Regions from separate parts of the Homo sapiens genome. Here region 1 is linked to region 2. The links are contacts of gene promoters, found by promoter capture Hi-C in blood cells and fetal thymus (Javierre and others, 2016). All regions are on one chromosome and are shown on one strand. The core of a region is centred on a gene start or on the middle of the fragment in contact, and the rest is flanking DNA. Distances in the headings are between cores, read along the strand shown.

Region 1 (4,707 bases), core at 1,947-4,446, 1.2 Mb before region 2:
GCGTCTTCATCATTTAGCTCCCACTTATAAGTGAGAATATGTGGTATTTGGTTTTCTGTTCCTGTGTCAGTTTGCTAAGGATAATGGCCTCCAGTTCCAGCCTTGTTCCTGCAAAAGACAGGATCTCATTCTTTTTTATGGCTATATGGTATTTTATGGTGTGTACATGTACCACATTTTCTTTATCCAGTTGGTCATTGATGGGCATTTAGGTTGATTCCGTGTCTTTCCTATTGTGAATAGTGCTGCAGTGAATATATGCGTGCATGTGTCTTTATGGTAGAGTGATTTATATTCCTCTGGATGTATACCCAGTAATGGGATTGCTGGGCCGAATGGTAGTTCTGCTTTTAGCTCTTTGAAGAATCGCCATACTGATTTCCACAATGGTTGAACTAATTTGCACTCCCACCAACAGTGTATAAGTGTTCCCTTTTCTCTGGAACCTTACCAGCGTTTGCTGTTCCTCCCCCGCCTCTCCCCATTCTGAAACCATAAAAGAATTGAGTTTTTTCTCTTGAACATAGATCAAGTTCTCTAGAAACAGGATATTTCAAACCACCAGTTAGTTTTATTGTTATATTAAAGTTCTTAGGTTTTGTATAGAGAGTATCTTTTGATCTTATATGCATTCTTAACCTTAACTTGTAAATAATGATTTACTGGAATATAGGGCATATGAGAATTTCTTGGAGAAACAAGCGAAAAATATTAGGAGAGAATTTTTAACATGATATCTTAAACTGTTATCTCTTAAAACGGATACAGTGAGACAGACAGTACCTTTAGTTAATGTTCTGTTTCCTCCTACTACTAGGAACTAGAATAGGATGTCAGTATTCTCTATGAAAACTATTAAAGATATACCACTATCATTTTTATTTCTTGCTGTAGATCCAAACTAATCTAGTGTCCAACTGTGGTAGACATAGAATAGGCAAATTCTTGCTGAGGGAAGGCATTTGAATCATTTCTATATATACTTAATTGATTTCCCAGTGCCCAGATTACCTCCATCCTTAGACTTAAATATTTTTAGGTTGTGCCCATTGTATCTTTCTGGATACTTTGTCTACCTATATTACATCCTTTTGAAAATAGTTTTTAAATATGTTTATATTATTTAATCATACCCCCGCCTCCCACTTTAGGTAATTTGGATAGCATTTGATCCATTTGTTTTTTAACAGAGAGGGTTACCTAAATAAAATTTAGGTATTTATTTGTATTTTACCTAAATAAAAAAATGAGTTTACCTGAATGAAAAAGTACATTCATCACAGAATACTTAGCATTTTATGACTTCTTATTTTCCTGTTTTTCTTGTTTTTCTCATTCTTCATTATCATAGTAATAACTAGAAATGCTTTTTTTTTCCCTGTGGTTTCCATATTTGTATACACTAATGTATTCCTAGGGTTCAAATCACTGATTCAAACAGGTATGCATGTCAGTGTTTGAACTCACTTTCCGCTTGCACAATTTTAGTCACCTGCAGATGTGCGGTTATAAGTTGGAGTAAACATAACTGTTGGTATGAGAACTTCCACAGTAAATCATTCCCTGCCCACTAAATGTAATAAAGAGGCCGGGGGCAGAAATAGATAGGGAAGAAAAAAAAAATGTTTCCTAGGAATTTGGGTCGGGGAGAAAAAAACCTCTTAAAATGATTGGTATTTGTTAAATTGAGTTATAATTTTTTCAAGAAGAAAAAAGGCCTGGCCAGGCACGGTGACTCAGCCTGTAGTCCCAGCACTTTGGGAGGCCAAGGTGGGCGGATCATCTGAGGTCGGGAGTTCAAGACCAGCCTGGCCAACATGGTGAAACCCCGTCTCTACTAAAAATGCAAAACTTAGCTGTGTTTGGTGGCGGACGCCTGTAATCCCAGCTACTTGGGAGGCTGGGGCAGGAGAATGGCTTGAACCCGGGAGGCAGAGGTTGCAGTGAGCCGAGATTGCACCTCTGCTCTCCAGCCTGGGCAACAGAGGGAAACTCCATCTCAGGGAAAAAAAAAAAAAAAGAAGAAGAAAGGCCTGTAGTTCAGTTCAGTAAAAATGAGTGTCTGCTATATTCTAGCACTGTGCTGGGCTGAGGTAGAAAGTCCATGGCTTGAGAAATGTCTCAGCATGGACTGAGTGACAGAGCCAGAAACATAGGTAATTGTAGCATAAATAATAATGAAAATTATGTGTGGGTACTAGGAGAGCATGGTGTTTCTGTATTGCTTATATGGGGTGGAAATTGGCAGAAATTGGAAAGATTGCAGGGGTCAGGTAATAGAGGGCTCTCCATGCCGTCCTGAGTAACTTGGAGCTACTTTGTGTACGGTAGTATACCAATAACACGGCATATTCAAGTTTGGCTCTGTGTAAATTATTGGCTCAAGAGTAGGGGATAGACTCAAGGAGGAGGGCAAAGGTTGGAATCAGAAGCGTAGAGCTTAAATTAATGTGGTAGACATAGTAAGGGTATAGAAGGGGCAGATTTGAGAATTATGTCGGAGGCAAATATTATAGGAGTATATTAGAACAAGAAATGTAGTATGAACCTTGGTTTTTGGTTTTTTTGGTTTGTGATTGAGTAGATGATGAACTACCAATTGAAATCGAAATTAGAAGAAGGGGGAAAGGTGGGCTGGGGGAAATGATTTCAGTCTGAAACTCCAGAAAATGCCTGGAGATAGAAGTCTGGGAATGATCAACATCCACTGATTTTTGCATTGAAACATTTCATCAGAAAAATGATTCCAAATTAAACCATCCAAAAAGGGAGGAAAGGGGCAGTGGACCAAGGATGGAATCTTAAGGATTAATCAGTTAAGGGATAGATGGAGCAGGGTCACAGAGTAAGAGGGACACCTAGAGAACAGTGTTGTGGAAGCTTAGGGTTGGTAGTAAGAATGGTAATTTATTACTGTTATTACTGTTTATTGAGAGCAACATGAGTACTACTATTAACCCTCTTTTCACATGTAAAGAGTATGAAGCCAGGATAGTTGAGAAGACTTGCCCATATCCATATAGTTAGTAAGCGGGGGAGCTGGAATAAACCTAGGGCCATCTGGCTCCAGAGCTCAGTAATGCACAATTCCAGATGCTACAGAGAAATTCAACGAACTAGAGTTGAAAAATAGCCGTATGTCTTGCGGCGTTTTTGTGTTGGTGTTGTTTTCTTGTGGCATTTTCAAGAGCAGTTTCAGAATAAAAATGAGACCAGTTTTCTGGAGTTTAAGGAAAGAATGAGAAAATAAACCATAAATTTAGATTATAGTTGACCCTGAACAACAGATCCATTTATATGAGAAAGTTTTTCAACCAAATGCCGCTGGAAAATACAGTATTCACAGGATGTAAAGACCTCCGTATAGGGAGGGGCTGATTTTTCATATATGTGGGTTCCACAGGGCTGACTGTGGACTTGACTATGTGTGCATATTGGTATGTGCATTAGTTCAGGGGTCCTGGAACTAATCTCCTGTATACCAAGGGACCACTGTAGTTCTAGAAGCTTCACTGAGAAAGGACTGAGTAAAATAACAGTGTAACATTTAGTGGAATGAAGTGATGTACTCTGAAAGGTTACAAAAAGCCAGGGAAGTCTTAAAGAAAATATAATTGAAAGTCTTTAAGAACCCAAAAGTATCAATAATAGAATTATTTAGGGGTTCAAATATCTAGTACTCTCTCTTTATTTATTGGTTTATAAATGAATAAATGCATGAACGACAGGCCTAGACTAGAGTGATCATAGCTCACTGCAGCCTCGACCTCCCAAGCTCAAGTGATCCTCCCACCTCAGCCTTCCGAGTAGCTGGGTCTGCAGGTGGGCACCACCACACCCAGCTAAGTTTTTTCATTTTTCATAAAGCCAGGGCCTCGCCATGTTGCCCAGGCTGGTCTCAAACTCCTGGGCTGTTGCGATCCTCCCACCTTGGCCTCCCGAAGTGCTGGAATTACAGGTGTGAGCCACAGCGCCTGGCTTCTTATGAGGCATTTACAAAATGGTCGAGATAACAGGCTTATTTTGCAAAATGTATGAAAAGTACTATCAAGTCCTCAGAACAGGTAAGTTTATTCCGAGTTATGCAAAATTTCCAGCACTTATCAAGGCCTTAGTCAACACCAGCTGTATTATCTCTCAAGGTTTAACTGCTTCAGAATTGTTTCTTTTCCAATAGAAACCAATTTATGTGATATGGTGTGGAAGATGATCAATCACAAGTTAACTACACGAATGTCTAACTACAGAGAAATTTGCTTCATTCTAACCCTCAAATAGTAGAAATTAGTGAAAAATTTTGTAATGAAACAAAAAGTAAATTACAACCTAAAAGGATGAGCCAGGGCTTTTTAAAAAATCTCATTTGTAATGATAATGAAATGTAATAAATTTAAATTTTGTGGTGCCACTCTTTTAAGGTTAACACCTTATCAAGTTATTTAAGTGCTTACTCTGGAAAAAATACAAGTAATGGAAAGCATTTTTCCCCTAGATACCTACTGTATAACAAACTAGGGCAATGAAATTTGTACCTATGTTAAAATTTGAGAGCAATGGGTGGATGCAACAAATACTTGACTAACAATTCATGTAAATTACCAGGAAGCAGCCTGGTACACTAGCCACGTAATGTTGAGCAAGTTATTTAACCCATGATATTCCAATCTCTAAAGTGAAAGTATCCCACCTTCTTAGAAGAGCTGGGAG
Region 2 (5,149 bases), core at 2,371-4,870:
CAGGAAGTTAAGATACGCTCTAGGTCTTGAAAATGACTAAGACTTAGCTAAATGACTGGAGCGAATTGGTGCATTCCAAGAAAGAACAAAACTACTGTAGTTAGGAAAAAGAATTAAATGGACCATTTCACAAAACTTATAAATAAGGAGACAAGACTAGAGAGACTAGTAAAAGCCAGATCACGCAGCTCAGAGCTTCAAAAATCTTCACTCTTAAATACTGACAGGGAGCAAATACTTACCCAGCCTGTGTATATACTGATAGCTCTTAATCCAGTTAAACTGTATTTATAAACATTTTATATCAGATACAGATAATATAAAGACATATACTAGTAGTCATAGTTAAAAATTCACTGTCTTTGCCACTCAATACATATACATACAAGTCCTGTTCCCATCCTTCAACTGCAAATCTACAGGCAACCCATAACCCTATAAACTGAACCCCAGGCGTCCATAAGACCTATTACTGTATCACCTAGTCTTTATCCCCTCAGACACAGATGTCTTTCCTCTGTGGTAGAAAAGAAAGTGGCCCATTGCCCATAAACGGGAAAGAGGGATTATGTTAGGACCATGATCGCTACTGGCATCTTCTCTCTACTCTATTTATAGGGCTGTCACCCTCTATTAATCATTAAAAGCAAACTTACTAAATACCTGCAGATTCTAAGTAAAACATAAAATGCAGCATTCCCTCCTCAATCATCTGAACTGGGGCAAATAGGACCCTATACAACCTCTGATAATTATTATTAATAACAAACTTCTGGCCAGGTGGGACAGCTCATGCCTGTAATACCAGCACTTTGGGAGGCTGAGGTGGGAGGATCATTTGAGGCCGGAAGTTCAAGACCAGCCTGGGCAACACAGCAAAACCCCATCTCTACAAATACGAATAAATTTTACAAATAATAATAAATTTCACTTCTCATATATGAAAATGTTTCAGAATGCATCCATTGTTAACTTCCAAATTTTTTCTGTAATCCTTCATTCCGTTCACTATAAACCCTTCTACATATTTTAATTCACATACTCAATCTTCATGCATGGGGACCTGCAATTGTATCCAATCCCGAACTCTTCTAATCAACAGATGCCCCAACAAAACCTGTTATCCCAAATCAATGCTACATTTTACTTATCTACCTACACCTTCATGTTATACATCTAAAACCCTCCTCTTTAGTAATCTACCACTAAAGTGAATATTGTCTTTCCTTCCATGTACAGGCACATAAATATATGTCCAATTTCCCCAACCAACAAATCCTGACACACATTATTATTCTCAAACATGGCCTCCAGACATAAAAAGCACACCATAAAATTCCTCTTTCTATCCAAAACACTTGAATACTTTTGTTAATGACTTTCTTTAGAAATCCTAGTACATATACCACTTATTCCAAGTTAAAAATCACAAAAATACTACATCCTCAAGATAGAAACATATACTAGAAAGTGTAGACATATATGAAAAGGATAAAATCAAATTAAAGATAACGTTTATGAAGAGGGAGGATTGGAGAAATGCAGTCCAGGAGAGATTCAGCTGAGATTTTAATCCTATTTGTAAAGTTTTATTTCTTAACCTGAGTTGGGGATGCATGGTGTTCACTGTAATTACTCTTCATACCTTTTCATACTTGAAATACTTTTAAATGACTTTTAAAAAGAAAGACATCCAATTACCAATGAGCATCTCCCTCTTACACACAGTGAGAAGCCATTATGTCCAAGTTGCAGTAACTGTTCACTGCTACATCTGGGCCACCCCATCATTTACCTAAGCCAAGAAAAGAAAAAATTACAAACCTACCTCCCAAAACTTTCTCTTAGATATGTTCCAAGTTTATATCCTGAAACTATACATAATCCAATTCTTTCACAACTCTCACATCAACAATAATTAACATGTCTAATTTCACGTTTGCATCCCTAAATTGCCATTTACTCTTACAAATGCCTTATTACTCACATAGTAAACTTTTCCTTGTTCGTCTACGTTAAAATACAAGTGAATTGGTTGACCACATAACTACTTCCACTTGGCTAAACGCAGACAGTTGTATACATTACATCTCTATGCAGGAGTCCGATTCACTCATACACTAACTTTTCAATCTAAACCTACAACATCCAAATTAAGCCACCCATCATTTAACCACAAATGAAATGTCATCTCCGCCAAATCTAACTCAGCCAGGGCCATTCCAAAACCACTCCAGTCCGTCCACTGAGCATACACCTCACGCATCTGAAAGTCCCGTCCCTGGACCAAGGTTTACGCCACCCAGAAGTGCTCTCCTCCAATGGTGAGACTCAGACACACCTTCAAATCCTAATTTTCGGCTCGCTGTGGGAAAACAAGTAGAGACAGCCTGAAGTTACAAACCCAAAGGAATCTATTTCATACACCACAGGTCCTGACTTTCTCGTCACTGGGGCGTAGAAGTTGGAAGCCCCGAGCAAGGGGACCAGGTCTAGTCGTCTTCGGCGTCCGCAGAGTCCTACAGTCGTCGACCAAGCAGTTCAGGCAGCTGGCCCGCCTACTTCCCTCCCCACCCCCACCACGACCCACCCCACCCCCACCCCACCCCCACCCCCACGCTGGGCGCACAGCCCGCGGTCTGTCCCCCGCACTGCGGGACCTGAGAACAGCAGACTGCCGGCTCCTCTCCCACAAGGGAGGGCTTGGTTGCCGGCTCAGACGCTCCCCGCCCCTCGCCTCCGGCCACCAGCCTCTCCGCCCGGGGTCAACCCTTCCAGCCTTTCGCTCTCATCTAACCGGACGCAGGACCGACAGCCTCTCCAGGGCCTACCCGGGCCTCGCTTCCTCCGGTGCCAAGCTCCAAGGTCTCCTCACCTCTCGCGGAGGACCAAGCCAGACCGGACGCTCCAGGCCCGAAAGGCAACTCCCCTCCCACCACTCCCTGACTCGCCGGTCTTTCCTCCCAACTGCAGCCGCTGAAAAAGCCAAGTCCTAAGGTCCCCCTCCATCAGCTTCCGGGCCTCCCTTCACGGCTGGGCCCGAACCCCCAGCCCTGCCCTCTCGCCATCTCGCTTCCCCGAGTCGCGAGGCCGAGCCCCGGGGCTGGACGGCTTCTTTCCCCGGCTTCGCGCCCGCCCGGCGTGCGGAAGACTCACCACTGAGCGCGGAGGCCTGCAGTGTGGCCCCCGAGGTGCCGTCGATGACTTTGATGGTCCCGCGGCTAGTGACGGCCAGGATGGCGTTGAGCGCAGGGTGGTAGGACAGGCTGTGCAGCCCGTCGGCGTCGCAGTGCATGCAGCCGTCCCGCAGCACCAGCCACTCTGAGACCCCGGCCGCCCCCGCCCCCGCCGCCGAGGAGCAGCCGGGGCCCGAGGCCGCCGCAGCCGCAGCCGCCATCTTCCGGCCTGCGCTCAGCACAATCACACTGGGAAGCGGCTCAGTGACAGTCCCGGGAGGTGCAGCACCACCACCAGTCACCATCCGGGGCCAGGGGGCAAGCCGAGCGCGTTAGCCGGAAGTGAAGTCAGGCGCCCGCACGCACGCGGAACGTCGATCGCCCGGCCGGAGGGGCCAAACTCGGAGGGAGGCTGACGGGAGAGGGGGAGAAGCAGGGAGGGAGGCGGGGCCCGGGGCGCGGGCTGGAGGCCGGCGGGTGGAGCATGCGCGGGAGGGCTCGCGCGTGCCACGCGCCGCGGGTCTGGCCAGTTCCGCGTCCGCAGCGTCCCAGTTTCTTCCTGTGAGCCTGGGGAGTGGCGGCTGCCGAGTCCGCCCCGCTCCTCGCGGGGGCAGGGGGAGGGGTTGGCCTCCGTGCATTTCCGCTAGGTGGGGACCCCCGCCCTTGCGACCTGTCCGGTACGCCCGGAGGCCTTTTGCAGCGGTTCCAGCTGCGCCTTGACCGTTCCCGGTACGCACGGTGCAGCTGTTCGGCCGTGGCCGGAAGCGGACCTCTGGGTCTCGGTCACGGCTCTGGTGTGAGAATAAACAATCAGAAGCCTCTCGTTTGGATTGGAAGGAACCGAGCGACCTTCCCAAACCTGTACCTTTTACCACGCCTGCCCTCCCCATTCCCAAGGCTTTCTGTTGAACAGAAGTACCAGATACGAGGTGCTGGAAGCGCATAGTTAAGCTTAGTTTCTCTATCCACATTCCAAACAACCCGAGTTACCGGAATTAATAGGAGTGTGGGTCTGTGTGAGTGTGTGGTGGGGTGTGTTGGAGGTCTAGAAAGGACTAATCAATTTACTAATCATCCCCCCTTGGAGAATTTTTTTAAAACTTTTTATTTTGAAATAGATTACAGTTGAAAATATACTACAGACCTCTGTGGTCTTTCTCTCCAAAAGCCATAACCCCTATCTAACTATGAGAAAACCATTTGACAAACCCAAACTGTAGGACATTATTTTTATAAAATACCTAAACACTACTCAAAGATAGTACAGAGAGATCCAATTTACTCTTTACCCAGTTTCCCCCAATGGTTGCATATTACATAATTCTAGTACAATCTCAAAAGGAGGGATTTGATAGTTGTATGATGTGTGTATAGTTCAATGTCATTTTATCACATGTAGACCTACGCACCATAGTCAAGATGCAGAGTTGTATGTTCTATATGTTTTGTGATCATTAGGTTATTTTGGAAAGAACTAGTTTTCCTTAAAAACCTAATCAAAGATCTGTTGTGAGGATTAAGAATCATTTGTAAAATGTGTAGAAGAGCATCTGACAAGTATATACTACGTGCTCAATAAAAATTATAAAAGTTAATTGCCCTCTCACATTCATGCGAACTTCCTTCAGGAAATCTTCATGGATTACCTGAACTACATCTTAAACTATTAGCCATCAGGCTACATCTGAAACACTTAGAGATTTGACTGTATTCCTCTCTTCTTGGGGGTCCCTAAAATACACTGAAGTTCCTGGGCCTGCCAGAGAGTGACATTCCTTACTCATCTGTGGTTCTTTTTTTTTTTTTTTTTTGGCTTTTTTGTTTGTTTTTGTTTGTTTATTGAGACGGAGTCTCACTCCGTCGCCCAGGCTGGAGTGCAGTGGCGTGATCTCAGCTCACTACAACTTCTGCCTCTTGGATTCAAGCAATTCTCGGCCTCAGCCTCCTGAATAGCTGGGATTACAGGCACCTGC

Evidence for each region. Contacts are between HindIII fragments. The CHiCAGO score rates a contact against its expected background, and 5 or more counts as called.
Region 1: a contact is called between a fragment that was not itself captured here and the fragment with the promoter of BIRC6 in region 2, in 1 of 17 cell types (total B cells). The highest score is 5.1, in total B cells.

Annotation. Positions count from the first base shown.
Region 1 is chr2:33,577,792-33,582,498 of GRCh38, reverse strand. No RefSeq gene overlaps it. Among named protein-coding and RNA genes, the nearest start is that of RASGRP3-AS1, 11 kb to the right of the region's middle. The HindIII fragment of the contact is 627 bases long and covers 2,883-3,509 here.
Region 2 is chr2:32,355,494-32,360,642 of GRCh38, reverse strand. BIRC6 (baculoviral IAP repeat containing 6) reads right to left here and starts at 3,620. Exons shown (of 74, transcript NM_016252.4): 1 at 3,157-3,620. The coding sequence starts at 3,481. RefSeq lists enhancers at 2,410-2,922, 3,437-3,949 and silencers at 3,174-3,403, 3,564-3,933. The HindIII fragment of the contact is 6,861 bases long and covers 1-4,129 here.